Linked DNA regions of Homo sapiens: regions 1, 2 and 3 are each linked to region 4. The links are contacts of gene promoters, found by promoter capture Hi-C in blood cells and fetal thymus (Javierre and others, 2016). All regions are on one chromosome and are shown on one strand. Each heading gives the region's core, a stretch centred on a gene start or on the middle of the fragment in contact. The rest is flanking DNA. Distances are from core to core; before and after follow the strand shown.

Region 1 (3,048 bases), core at 467-2,966, about 15 Mb before region 4:
TGAAAGATATGAAATACAGAAGACACTGTTTAGAAATAGACCAAAATACACACAGGATTTTGGAACACGGTAAAAGTAGCAATTCATTTCGGGGGAGAGATGGCTTATACTCATTGGAAAGAGCCTTTCCTTTCTTTTAATGCCTAGCCACAGACCACTGACTCCACGACTGGGGGAAATGTGGAGCCCTGGGGGCAGAGAGCAAGCCTGCCCTCTGTCCCTCTGCCCCTGTGCCCCTCTGCCCACGTGGGCACGCAGCCTTAGTTAAGACCCCAATAAGTGGTAGGCTCTCTAAAATGTGTTCACAACCTTTAAAGCAGTCATTCTATTTTAGGAAGACACTGTAAGAAAATAATCCTAAAGAGAAAAATATGTATCAATTGTAGAAGGACATCTATAAGCTGCTCCATTTATTTATTTATTTATTATTTATTATTATTATTTTTGAAGCAGAGTCTCGTTCTGTCGCTCAGACTGGAGTGCAATGGTGCGATCTCGGCTCACTGCAACCTCTACCTCCAGGGTTCAAGCGATTCTCTTGCCTCAGCTTCCCGAGTAGCTGGGATTACAGGCACCCGCCACCACGCCGGGCTAATTTTTTGTATTTTTAGTAGAGACAGGGTTTCTCTATGTTAGCCAGGCTGGTCTCGAACTCCTGACTTGTGATCCGCCCGCCTTGTCCTCCCAAAGTGCTGGGATTACAAACGTGAGCCACCGCGCCCGGCCAGGTGTTCCATTTATAAAGCAAAATACAAAAATGAAATGGCTAGGGGCACGAGGCCGCCTGGTGGGTGAGAGCAGCGGCCATGGATGGCTTTGCGCAGACCAACAAACAGCTAAATTATAGAGGAACTACATATTGAAATGTAAATTCACGCATGAGGTCTGTATTAATATTGAAAATGCCTAAATAAAAATAATCTTTTTTTTCTGAGCCTGGGGGTGGGGGAGTGGAGTGGCGTGGGGGAGTTGGGGTGGAGGGGGAAAGGGTCTTTCTATGTCGCCCACTGGTGTCAAACTCCTGGGTTCAAGCAATCCTCCCGCCTCAGCTTCGGAAGCAGCTGGGAATACAGGCGCGCGCATCAAGCCCGGTTAAATAAAATCTGTTTCCCCCAGTTAAAAAAAAATTAATTTGTGTGGGTACATAGGTGTATATATTTCTGGGGTATATGGGATATTTTGATACAGGCATACACTGTATAATAATCACATCAGGGTAAATGAGGTATCCGTTACCTCAAGCATTTATCCTTTGTGTTACAATATAATCTTAAAGGGAAAAAAAGAGCAGCACAGGTAGTACTGACTGCAGCTGTACAGAAACAATGCGTGCCATAAATATTCATTTGAAAGAGAGGGGTTATGATTATTTACAATCATTAGCGAATGTAGCAACATTCTGGGCACTGACAAGAAAACTGCCACAAACATGCAGGCATAATGCACAATAAGCAAGTCCAAGCTGTGGTCGGGGCTCCCTCGCGTCCCTGTAAGCTCTGAATTTAGAATGGGGTGGACCGCCTGCTGATCAAGGGTTCTGAAAGGCCGGCGGCTAATGGACCGCCAGGGGGCGCTCCACGCACGTCTCCACGTCCCCGGGCGCACCTCGCAGCCGCGCCCGCTCGCTGCCAGGCCGCTCCCTCCGTCCCTCACCCGCCCCGACTCGCTTCCGTCCCGTCCGACGCTAGGGGGCGCCGCAGGCTGCCTGGCGCGCTGCTCGCGGCCTCGGAGGGCCGGGGCTGGGTGGCAGCGGCCATGGACCGCTTCGTTTGGACCAGCGGCCTCCTGGAGATCAACGAGACCCTGGTGATCCAGCAGCGCGGGGTGCGAATCTACGATGGCGAGGAGAAGGTAGGGCGTCTGCCAACCTTCCCAACGGGCTGGCGGAAGGGACCCCCGGTGGGCGCGCGGCCCGGCTCAGCGCGGCCCGGGTCGGCGCGGCCCGGTCCCCGGCTTAGCTCACGGCCCTCGGCGGCCCGGCAGGCCTCTGTGCGGGGTGCAGCGCTCTTGCGCTCCCCGCCGGTCGGTAGCACGTGGCGTGGGGCGCTCGGCTGCCTCCCCAGCGCGGGTCCCAACTTTGGCACGGTTCCCAGCAGGCGCGGATCGCGGCCGCTTCCCTCCGCCCGGAATGCTTCCGGGAGCGCACAGCTGCAGTGCCCGGGAGAAGGAGCGCTCGCCGTCTGCGGGCGCCGGGCGGCGATCCGGCAGTCGACTTCCTTGGCGTGGTTCCAGACCCCCTGACGACACCAACCTCGGCGTCGGCACCGGACAGCCCCGTTTCGCCTTTCTGTGAGGAGGGCGCGGTGGCCGTACAGTCCGTGCCCCAGCGGAAGCTTTAGCTTGGACCTTATGCAGTCGGAGGGATTAGCATATCTGGGCAGAGGGGTGAGGGATTGCTTCGAAAGGATTTCCTAAAGAGGTATCAGTGCTTCATTGGAATGCCCTTGCCAAAGGCTATTGGGTTTTTGTTTTGTTTTCTAATTGCTTTAGAAAGGCGTTCTGAGCGTGTTTTGTAAAGTGTTATATTAATAGTAGACCGTGCCTTGTAGTGCAAGCATAAATCTTAGAAGGTGCGTTTGCAAATCGAGAGGAGAAATAGGAAGTGTAAGTAAATATTTTGTAGATACTTTACTGAAACTATGAAATATCTTGTCCTGGATTGAAATGGATAAACTGGAATTAGAAAAATTTTAAAACTCATTTACCCACAAGCATTTTTGGTTTCCAGAAGTTTTAATTTGCTACCTCTCTTCCCTTGCCGTTTTATTAACGACACTTTCCGCTGTACTTTGATATAAGTTCCTCAACTCAGCTTTTCCTGGTAAGTGCTTACAGCTATTTAGAGGCACAGGTGACATTGGACCCAGGTCCTCTGACTCTCTTAGGGCATTTTCTATGGGCTGTGTTGCCTGTATTAGTGAGTAAAGGTCTTTTCCTTAAATAATTTGCTTGGACCTAACTTCACTTACTGCCTTAGCACTTCTTAATTTAATTAATTAATTTATTTATTTTGAGACAGAGTCTCGCTCTATCGCCAGGCTGGAGTGC
Region 2 (3,554 bases), core at 1,025-3,524, about 16 Mb before region 4:
CTTAACTCAATGCAGCCTCAAACTCTGGACTTAAGCCATCCTCCAGCCTTAGCCCCCAAAGTAGCTAGAACTGCCGGCACATGCCACAATGCCCAGCTAATTTTTTTATGGTTTGTAAAGATGGGGTCTTGTTTTGCTGCCCAGACTGGTCTCAAATTCCTGGCCTCAAGTGATCCTCTCACCTCAGCCTCACAAAGTGCTGGGATTACGGGCATGAGCCACCACACATGGCCATTTCTTTTAACTTCCCGAAATACATCTGGTACACACGCTCATTGGGAATAACAGATTTAGATCACTCTCCAAAATGAAGCAGTGTTACCACTTACTACAATGTAGGCAGCAAGGAGTCTAACGTAGCATAAAATAATGAGAGATGAAGAGAGTAAGTGGAAAGATGTCAGCTTAAACATAAGAATAGGAGGAAAAAGAGAAGGAAACAGACCTGAAGATTGCTATACCATGCATAAAACCAGCAAGCTATTTAACTGAAAAAAAAATTACTTTTCTCAGAAAAGCTATCTTATTCTGTTATTTTTAATAACATTACTGAATTTATCATTCCTTGTTTCATGGACAAGAAACTGTAACTTCCTAAAAGGACAGTAACTATTCAATTGGTCTCTTAAAACTATAATCTTACTTAAGACATAAGTTTTTTAAAAACTTGAATTGCTAAAATTCTACTTATATGGTATATTCTATATGTAAATTCCACTTATGTGGTATATATTATGTGTATTACTTACTAGCCACATGAAAATGGCCTATTTTGAGATATAAACATTACTAACCTAATGGTTTGATTCACTTACCTAACTAGGTCTCTCTCCATCTCTCTGTGCCCCTGACTCTTCCTCATGCTACGGAGCTGCCTGAGCAGTTCTGGCTTGTTTGCTTGTCAAAACAGAGCAGCAGATGCAGCTGCCACCAACTCAGGACTCAGGGGCTCATTTCTGAAAAAGAAAATGAAAACCAAATGAGAAAGAAAAAAGAGAGATTGCTTATTATGCCAGTAGTTTAGTGAAAAGCAAAATGATTTTGGGGGGAAAATTTTCTGTTGATCAAAAAAGTATCATTCAATTCAATATCTGACAAAAGCAGGAATTCTCAACTATTAGGTACCAGTTTTATATAAACTTTGAAATGCTAATTCAGAACAATATATTAAGGTGGAGGGATGAGGGATCAGCCTCAAAAATTATAAATTAGTGGAATTTTCAATTAGATGCTATTGTATTTCAAAAACAATATATATTGCAAGCAAATATTAAGGCAGCTTAACCTGTTCACAGAAGCTTTACTCATAATAGCCCCAAACTGGAACCAACCTAAGGTCTGTTGTTAGAATGAAAAAACAAATTGTCAGATATCCAAACAATGGAAGAGTACTCAGCTCATGCCAACATGAATGATTCTCACAGATATTAGAGCAAGTGAAAGAAGTTGGACACAGAATATATTCTGTATGATTCCATTGCTGTCAAGTGCCAGAACAGGCAAAACTAATCTGAGGTGAAAAAACAATCAAGACAACAATTGCCTCAGGACAGAAGGCTACTAACTGGGAAGGTGAAAATGGGAAACACAGTGTCTTGGTTAAGTGTGTGGGTCACATGGGCTTATCCATTTGTCAAAATCCTCCAGCTAAGATTTGTACACTTTAATGTATGTAAATTTTACCTGAAAAAAAAAAGCCATCAATCATTATCAAGTAGGAGATGAAAACTGGGTGAAGGTATATATAATACAAGAATAGTAAAATGTTGATCATTGTTGAAGCTGGGTGACAGTATAAAGGGGTTCACTGTACCATTTTGCGTACTTTGCGTATATTTTAAATTTTTCATAAGAAAAAGCTTTTAAAAGCTTCCTAAATAAATTAGAGCAAGTTAATATAAAAACATCCTATTATGAAAAGAAAGTAAACTGTATACAACATTGTTTCCTTTTTTTTTTTTTTTTTTAAGAGATGGGATCTCAGTATGTCGTGAAGTCTGGCCTCGAAGTCCTGGGTTCAAGCAATCCTCCCACATCATCTTCCTGAGTAGCTTGGACTACAGGCATCTGTCACCATACCTGGCTATTTGCGACATTTTTAAACTCACTGAGAACTGCCATCTCAATAAGTGGGACCCAAATTAATATTTTATTATGCCTGGCTTTCTGTATTATGATCTATTACCTAATATTCAAATTAAAGCTCCCAAATTCCTAAAGTTCTTGGAGAAAGATTTTAAGGACTTAATTGAGATATATATGGAAGATCTAAAATCTGATAGGAATGGAAGAAAAATAGAAGAATGAAAAAAGGGGTTCAGCATGGTGGCTCATGCCTGTAATTCCAGCACTCTGGGAGGCCAAGGAGGGAGGATCGCTTGAGCTCAAGAGTTCAAGACCAGCCTGGGCAAGATGGCAAAACCCCATCTCCACAAAAAGAAAAAAAAAAATTAGCCAGGAGTGGTGGCACATGCCTACAGTCCCAGCTACTTGAGAGGTTGAGTGGAAGGATCACTTGAGCCTGGGAGGTTGAGGCTGCAGTGAGTGATGATTGTTCCACCACACTCCAGAATGGGCCACAGAGCAACACCCTGTCTCAAAAAAAGAAAAAGAAAAAAGGAAATATAATAGTTAAAATGAAATGTACTTTCAGAACTGTTATCTGTGAATAAAGCTTTAACCGTATTCCACATCATTGTTATTTCTTTCATAAACCACTTGTAAACTTCATTTTCAAATTTTAATATATGTATTTGATCAGAGTAGGCACAGAACATAGGTGAATATTCATTTTTCAGAATCATGCATTTCATAACAATAATTTCCTTCATAGTTATAGTCTCTGGCTTTATAATTTATAAAGTTCTAATTAATAAAAATTGTAGGGAGCCTGTGTCATTGAACAAGATAATTTTTACATACAAGGATCTTTCTTCATAGATTTTAACAATGTAATGAGAACTTGTTAAAGTATCTTTCAGGGCTTCGTGGTGGCTCATGGCAGTAATCCCAGCACTTTAGGAGGCCGAGGCAGGTGGATCACCTGAGGTCAGGAGTTCGAGGCCAGCCTGGTCAACATGGTGAAACCCCATCTCTACTAAAACCAAAAAAATTAGCCAGGCATTGTGGAGTGCACCTGTAATCCCAGCTACTCAGGAGGCTGAGGAAGGAGAATCGCTTCAACCTAGAAGGCGGAGGTTGCAGTAAGCCGAGATCACACCACTGCACTCCAGCCTGGGCAAAAAACAGCAAGACTCCATCTCAAAAAAAAAAAAAGTATCTTTTAACAATCTATTCAATCCTGTAATTAAAACTATTTCATGAATACATACTTTTCCCCTTCATAACTTTTTTTTTTATTTTGAGATAGGGTCTCACTCTGTTGCCCATGCTGGAGTGCACTGGCACAATCTCGGCTCACTGCATTGTCCACCTCCCGGGTTCAAGGGATTCTCCCACCTCAGCCTCCCGAGTAACTGCGATTACAGTCCCATGCCACCACACCCGGCTAATTTTTGTATTTTTGTGATAGACACAGGGTTTCACCATGTCGA
Region 3 (3,522 bases), core at 636-3,135, about 16 Mb before region 4:
GCAAAAAGAGTGTCTACATTCAATAAAGCACCTACTGTATGATTCTGTTTATGAGTCAAGAACAAACAAAACTAACTGATGGTGATGGAGGTCAAAGCAGGAGTCAGCAGGACAGTAAGAAGAATTACTGGCTGAGAAGGCGCATTAAGGAGCATTATGAATGGAGATACTCTGTATCTTAATCTGGTGGTGTAAACATGTGAAAACTCATCAAACTATAGACTTAAAATCTGTGTTATTTACATAAATCATATATGCCTCCATAAAAATTTTTAAAGTAAAAGAAGATGGAAAGTGACAATAAAATTCATTATGTTAATACTGTTTAAAAGCAACTTTTATATAAACTGGATTCCCAAAGGAAGCACTAGGTCTAACACGACAATAACAAATGTAAATTAAAAGTCATAGCTGTCTAGCTAATACAAGAAATTATGGAGAAAAATTCTCAGTGCTTCCTGTAACATTATCCCCAAACTCATCCCAGAAGCCTTACTCCCAGTATCTAAAGGTCTATATATTTAGGTGTAAAAAACACACCTGGACCCTAAAAGGCCTTATAGGACCTGGCTCCTAGTTTCCTGTCCAACCTCTCTTAATCAAATGGGCCCTCTAATAAAAAGGGCCTTTTTGTTGCTTCACATACAGGCCAACTTCATTCCTACCTCAAGATCTGCACTGGCTCTTGGTCCTGCCTGGAATATTCTTTCCCCAGAGCTTCCAAGTTAATTCCCTTGTTCCTTCAAATCTCCACTCAAAGATCTCCTCAACGGAGGCTCTAGTACCATGTGGCACATTTCTTATAAAAGTCATAGCTAGAAAAGACGCTGTCTTGCCTCAAATTGTTAAACGTAACAGCAAAACAGGTTTCCTCTTTTCTGTGATTTAACGCAAAAACAAACAAAAACTCCTGGCTAAATTCTGTGACCCGCAGCATCATTTATCTTTAGGTTCTCCTTTAATTCTTATTATTTAACTCTTGATCTTTTACATTCCTTTACAGCTTTATGGTTTGCCTTCATTGCACACCTACAAAAAGTGATTTCTAGGTTAGCTGAGTATATAACCAAGACTTTAACCCACAGCAATCAGCGCCTTTGCACACAGCCACTCCAAAAAAAAATTTTGATGAATATACAAATGAGTGAATAATGAATTGTGATAAGACATCTGGAAAGTTTCAGGGACGTGAGGGAAAAGGGTTTTGCTCCAGTAGACTGACTTCATACCGACACTTTTACGTAAGAATGGCAAGAATTATTGTCAAACGAAAAAATTAACTTCATCGAGCCCAGAGTCCACTTCTCTAATCATAAATGTCATTAAAAAAAAAATCCTTTCAGCCAAACTACAAATGCCAACCATGCTCCCAAGAAATAGAGGAGGTTTTTCTCAGGAGCTGTAGGGAGTGGAAAGGGCAAGACAGGAGTCTGGGGTAACGCGGCTACCGTGTAACAGAGAAAAGAGACGGAGAATCTCAATACCGGAGCTGAGACGCAGCATCAACAAGAGCCTGGGTCCCTGTCCGGCGGTGCGGGGAGAAGGCGGGTCAGCGGGGACCCGAAGTGGCCCAGCTCCCCTAAGAAGAGTGGAGGAAGCAGAAATGGGCTCTCTCACCTCTAACGCCGCCTGGGGGTCCTCGTCGATTAGGGCATCCGAGAAGCTCTGGAAAAACCTGTCAGGAAAACAACGACTTCAGCAGGGCTCACTAGCCAAGGAAAGGGGGATAAAATAAATACCAAAGGGAAAGAAAAACATGCACCTCTGGGATGTTGCAGTTCCTGCTGCAGCCGCCGCCATCCCTCGTAGTCGCTGTTGCTGCCGCCGGAGCTGCTACTATCACGGTTACCACCTCCACCACCGCCCAAGGGGGAAACTTCTGGAGAAACACCAACCGAGCTTCCGTCCTAAATAGCCAGCGAGCAGCCACGCAGCGTGCTGCTAGGGGGACGGGAGGCGACACGCCGGCGCGGGGCCGGCTGGGACAGTGGAGGACCGATTCCTCCCAGCCGCACCCCGGCCCAGGACCCGCGCTCCCAGTCCCCGCCCCTCGCAGCCATGGTTACGGAGGCCTGGGGCGTACACGTTCTTCCTCCCTTCCACCGCGCCCACGCCAGCGGGCACTCCCACGGAGCTTTCAGTAGTACTTTAGAAGCACTTTTGTAACGTACTGTCATCCCTAAGGAACGTGTGGCGGTTAGGGGCGTTTGTATGTCTGTTAATAACGGAAGCTACTTCGAGCTCCCATTTTCCCTAGTTTTTATCATGGCTGCCACAGCTAGCCAAGCCCTTTCGCCTCCATTACGTCTTTAGCGGCTGCGTGGTCTCTTCCGGGAGCAGAGGCCCGGATGACGCGTGGATCCCCGCGATCTTTGGGCTGGGGATTCTAAACGACTGGGACTTGCCGGAAGTCATTCTGCACTAATAGCGGCAAAAAGCCTTCTGGTTCCTGGGGCGACGCGCCCGGCGGCCGTACTATTCACTTCCCCAGAACGCCACAGCCCAGGCTTTCTTCTTAGTGGGCTTCCCAGACCAAGAAGGGAAACCTTTCATCCGAAGGTACTGAGGGGAGGAAGGTGGCCTGAAGTTATCTCAGTGCCGCTTTGTTTCCCACCCCAGTCGGTCAGCCCTTCCTCAGCGCCCTTTAACCCTTGCAGATCGGATGGAGAAAGCTGCCAGCACGTTCTAGGGATGGGGGCAGATTGAGGAGCGGGAGGGAGTAGTCTTTGTCTAACTTTATACCAGTACCAAACTATGTTAATTTAATGTAGTTTTATAATAAATCTTTAAGTCCTGTAACTTATTCTCCCAAGATTGTTTTGGCTTATTCTACGGCCTTTGTATTTCTAGGTGAATTTTGGAATTAGCTTGTTAAAAAGGGGGGGGATTTTTTATTGGGCTCGCATTGAATCTATAGATCTGTTTGGGAAAACTAGTATCTTAACAACAAGTCCTTCAATCCATGAATATCATTCTTCCCCCACCATTTATTTAAGCGGTCTTTAATTTCTCCTGGCAATATTTTGTAGATTGCACATATATCTATATTTTAATGCAGCTGTGCTTGGATAGATTGCAGTATAGAGATCATATATATCTTTCATTAGATTTATTCTTGAGTATTTAGTGTTTTGTATACAATGTTAAATGGCATTTTGACTTTTTTATATTCTACTCGTAAGAATAAACAATATTGATTTTAACATACTGACCTTATATGCAAGCATCTTGCTAAGTTCCCTTGTTATTTGTAATACTCTGTAGATTCTTTCGGAATTTCTGTGATCAAAATCTTGCAATCCACGAATAAAGATGGTTTAACTTCTCTGTAACCTTTATACCTTTTATTTTTATTTATTTTTGCCTTTTGTTGCTGGCTAGTGTTTCCACTATTGAATAAAAACAGTGATAATGGACTTCCTTGTCTTGGTCATAACATCAGGAGGAAAGCATTGAATATCAACTGCTTTTTCTGCCTTTATTGAAATGTTCATTTGTATTTTTTAATGTTACTGTGAATTA
Region 4 (3,337 bases), core at 15-2,514:
GACGAATCTGCTGTTAAAGAAGGAGCGGGTCTCCCTCTTTATAAAAGAGCTGGTGCTGTGACTCAGAATAACACCAACAGTTCGGAGATAACAGGGTTTCTAGCGCAGAATCAAGCAGTGCGTGTGGAGCGTTATTCCAATGTTTCTGCGTCTTTTTTCTGCCTGTGACTTAGGCTCAGCCCTGGCCTTGCCTCTTCACTGGTCAAGGGCTCCGTGCTCCAACACATGAGAAACCTGAACTTTTTTTTTTTTTTTTTTTGAGACAGAGTCTCGCTCTGTCGTCCAGGCTGGAGTGCAGTGGCGCGATCTCGGCTCACTGCAAGCTCCGCCTCCCGGGTTCACGCCATTCTCCTGCCTCAGCCTCCCGAGTAGCTGGAACTACAGACGCCCGCCACCGCGCCCCGCTAATTTTTTGTATTTTTAGTACAGACGGGGTTTCACCGTGTTAGCCAGGATGGTCTCGATCTCCTGACCTTGTGATCCGCCCGCCTCGTCCTCCCAAAGTGCTGGGATTACAGGCGTGAGCCACGGCGCTCGGCCGAGAAACCTGAACTTTCTGTGCGCTCATTGTCCGCACCACGTTCTGCTCTGCAGGTCCCGGAGCTGAGGGCTCCTAAGCATCACCTTGTGTTGTAGACTGTGTCGTGCTCAAGGCTGCCATCTCCCTCCTAGGTGGGGTTACCAGATAAAATACAGGATACCACGTTAAATTTGAATGTCTGATAAACACAGCGTGGTTTTTTTGTTTTTTGTTTTTGTTTTTTTGTGGGTTTTTTTTTTTTTAAAGCATGAGTATGCCCCAAATAGAGCATGCAATTAGTTGTTGCCAGAACCTGGAGGGAGCTGGGAAGGCTTTACAGATAGATAGTGGTGATGGTTGCACAGTATGTATGTAATTAATGCCACTCACTATTGTAAACTTAAAATGATTAAAATGGCAACTTTTTATTTTACCACAGTTTATAAAAACTAATGTAATAAACCAGAAACCTGTAACTGGATGAGTCGTATGGTATGTGGCTATCTTAATAAGGCTGTTAAAAACATGATTAGTTTTTTAATCTGAAATTCAAATTAAGTAGACGTCTTGCATACTTGATAAACCTGGCGCCCCGCTGTGGAACCTAGCGCTCCTCTCCACCGACTGGGCGCCGAGGGCACGAGAGCGGCGTTTTCTCCGCCTCGCCACGCGGGGGCGCTGCGGCCAGCGGGCGCGACCTCTCTGGCGGCGGGGCCGGGTCGCGCGGGCGCGCTTCCGCCTGTGTGGAGGTGCGGGATTGGGCGGGCTGCCACGGCATGGAGAATGGCTCCGCTTCTGTTGCAGCTGGCGGTGCTCGGCGCGGCGCTGGCGGCCGCAGCCCTCGTACTGGTGAGAACAGGGATGGGAACCCGCGCAGGCCGGGGCTTACCGCTCTCCTGGAGACTGCGGCTCCTCAGGCGTCCCCTCCTCCGCGCTACCAGTTCTCGGAGAAGTCCCTTTTCCCCTAGATTCCCCCAAATTCCTGACCTCGGAGTTTCCTGGAGTTTCACTCTCCTTTTCTTCGGTTCTTTAATTTTCCCTTGGAATCTTATCTCTTTGTGTGCTCAGAGACTTGTAAGTTTTTTCACACTGGAGCGCACCCACCCGGCCTGGCATCATCGCCGCTTCCATCGCCCCTGGCGCCCGCGCCCCCTACCCACCTCCTCTGTCAACCTCGACCTCTCCCAGACTCTCCGGGACCTGCAGCCGCTGCAGTTCTGCTCCACCCAGGGAGGTCTCGAGCCCCCAGAAGGGGTGTGCTCCCTAGCCTGCTCCCTTGGCTGATGTGGTTAAGCAAATAGGGGTGACGGAGCCTTGACGGCAGCCATCTGTTACAAATGGGAATAAATGCGTGGATCGATGAGACCCACTAGGGACGCAGGGTGAGCGAGAGAGACAGGCCTCAGGCGCCTTGTCCGGGGTCGCATTGTGTCCCAGAATTAAGCACCCTAAATATACTGCCCCTAAACAAGGCAGGACGATAGAATGCAAACTCGATTGTCTTTGCCCTTGCTCTCGAAACACAAAAACATTGTAAACACTTGCTGATTGTTAAGTGGTAGAAAATTGGCGAACTCTCTCCCGCACACCTTGGAATGAGCCTGCCCTCTAGTTAGTAAGTGGAGAGGATTTCAGCTTCCTTGACATTCAGATTAGCCACCTAGACAGCACTGCCAGGAAGGCCACTCTGCCATCTTTCCAGAGGTTGTATAAATTTACAGTTTAGATAAAATGTAATGCATCCTTACTTCTTTGTTGATAGTATCTGGGTGAGAGAGGAGTCCTCTCTTGCCCTAACTAGTAGAGATTTCAGGGTTTAGGGCTTTTTTGTTTTTTCAAGTTTTTGAGCAAACCAGGATTGATTGATTGATTGATTGATTTTTGGCGGGGTGCGGGCGGGGAGTGGATTCACACATTCTTAGATTGAAGCTGCCTTACTTTGGGTCTTTTGCACAGATTTTATGGGATTGTACTGACGGTATTTGTTCCCACTAGCTTGAAGTGATAAGAGCTACCATTTATTGATTGTAGTACTTACTATATGTTGTGTTGCACTTGGTTTAATAGGAGTTATTAAATCTTTAACACTGTGACATATATGTTATCATTAGCATTATTTTACTGGTGAGGAAACATGTTGGAGAAATGAGCTCGTGTACTCAAATGTTGCACAACTAGTGAAACTTAGGTTTTTTAAATGCCAGAGCAAGAAATCATTAAAAAAATAATTTTTCAAAACCTCATCCTGTCTTCATATGTATCCACTCTCCATTACTCACAGTCTCACCTCCTTTCTGAATTATTTTAAAACAACTCGAAGACATTTTATCTTTAAATCCTCAGCATTTATTTCTAACAGATAAGGTCCTTCTTTTTAAAATACCACAATAAAGTGGTCACAGATTTAAATTTATTCTGTGATTTCAAATGCCCCCTCAGTTCACTTGCCCTCACTTGTCTCATATATGTCTCAGTATATATGTCTGTTTGTTCCAATCAGGATCCAAACAAGTGCCACACATTGTACTCTGTTGATGTCTTGAGTCTCTTAATCAGTTGACAGTTTCTCCTCCCCCTTTTTTTCTTTTCCTTGTCTTTTTTTTTTTTTTTTTTTTTTGAGACGGAGTCTGGCTCTTGTCACCCAGGCTGGAGTGCAGTGGTGTGATCTTGGCTCACTGCAACCTCTGCCCTCAAGCAATTCTCCTGCCTCAGCCTCCTGAGTAGCTGGGATTACAGGCGCCTACCACCACTCCCGGTTAATTTTTGTACTTTTAATAGAGATGGGGTTTCGCCATGTTGGCCAGGCTGGTCTCGAAC

The links. Contacts are between HindIII fragments. The CHiCAGO score rates a contact against its expected background, and 5 or more counts as called.
Region 1: a contact is called between the fragment with the promoter of VPS36 here and the fragment with the promoter of ALG5 in region 4, in 1 of 17 cell types (non-activated CD4 T cells). The highest score is 8.5, in non-activated CD4 T cells.
Region 2: a fragment that was not itself captured here is called in contact with the fragment with the promoter of ALG5 in region 4 in 1 of 17 cell types (naive CD8 T cells); the score reaches 5.6 in naive CD8 T cells.
Region 3: the fragment with the promoter of SUGT1 here is called in contact with the fragment with the promoter of ALG5 in region 4 in 1 of 17 cell types (activated CD4 T cells); the score reaches 12.0 in activated CD4 T cells.

Annotation. Positions count from the first base shown.
Region 1 is chr13:52,449,302-52,452,349 of GRCh38, reverse strand. VPS36 (vacuolar protein sorting 36 homolog) reads left to right here and starts at 1,716. Exons shown (of 14, transcript NM_016075.4): 1 at 1,716-1,851. The coding sequence starts at 1,756. RefSeq lists silencers at 1,470-1,529, 1,570-2,029 and an enhancer at 1,550-2,130. The HindIII fragment of the contact is 2,912 bases long and covers 1-2,335 here.
Region 2 is chr13:52,624,840-52,628,393 of GRCh38, reverse strand. It overlaps a transcript of HNRNPA1L2 not described here. Among named protein-coding and RNA genes, the nearest start is that of HNRNPA1L2, 16 kb to the left of the region's middle. The HindIII fragment of the contact is 805 bases long and covers 1,872-2,676 here.
Region 3 is chr13:52,651,199-52,654,720 of GRCh38, reverse strand. SUGT1 (SGT1 assembly cochaperone of MIS12 kinetochore complex) reads right to left here and starts at 1,885. Exons shown (of 13, transcript NM_006704.5): 1 at 1,763-1,885; 2 at 1,618-1,675. The coding sequence starts at 1,800. SUGT1-DT (SUGT1 divergent transcript) reads left to right here and starts at 2,414. Exons shown (of 1, transcript NR_170300.1): 1 at 2,414-3,416. RefSeq lists enhancers at 1,405-1,524, 1,634-2,135, 2,245-2,584 and a silencer at 1,885-2,154. The HindIII fragment of the contact is 4,517 bases long and covers 1-3,522 here.
Region 4 is chr13:36,997,267-37,000,603 of GRCh38, reverse strand. ALG5 (ALG5 dolichyl-phosphate beta-glucosyltransferase) reads left to right here and starts at 1,264. Exons shown (of 10, transcript NM_013338.5): 1 at 1,264-1,369. The coding sequence starts at 1,304. RefSeq lists enhancers at 1-78, 539-588 and a silencer at 1,049-1,348. The HindIII fragment of the contact is 11,758 bases long and covers 1-3,337 here.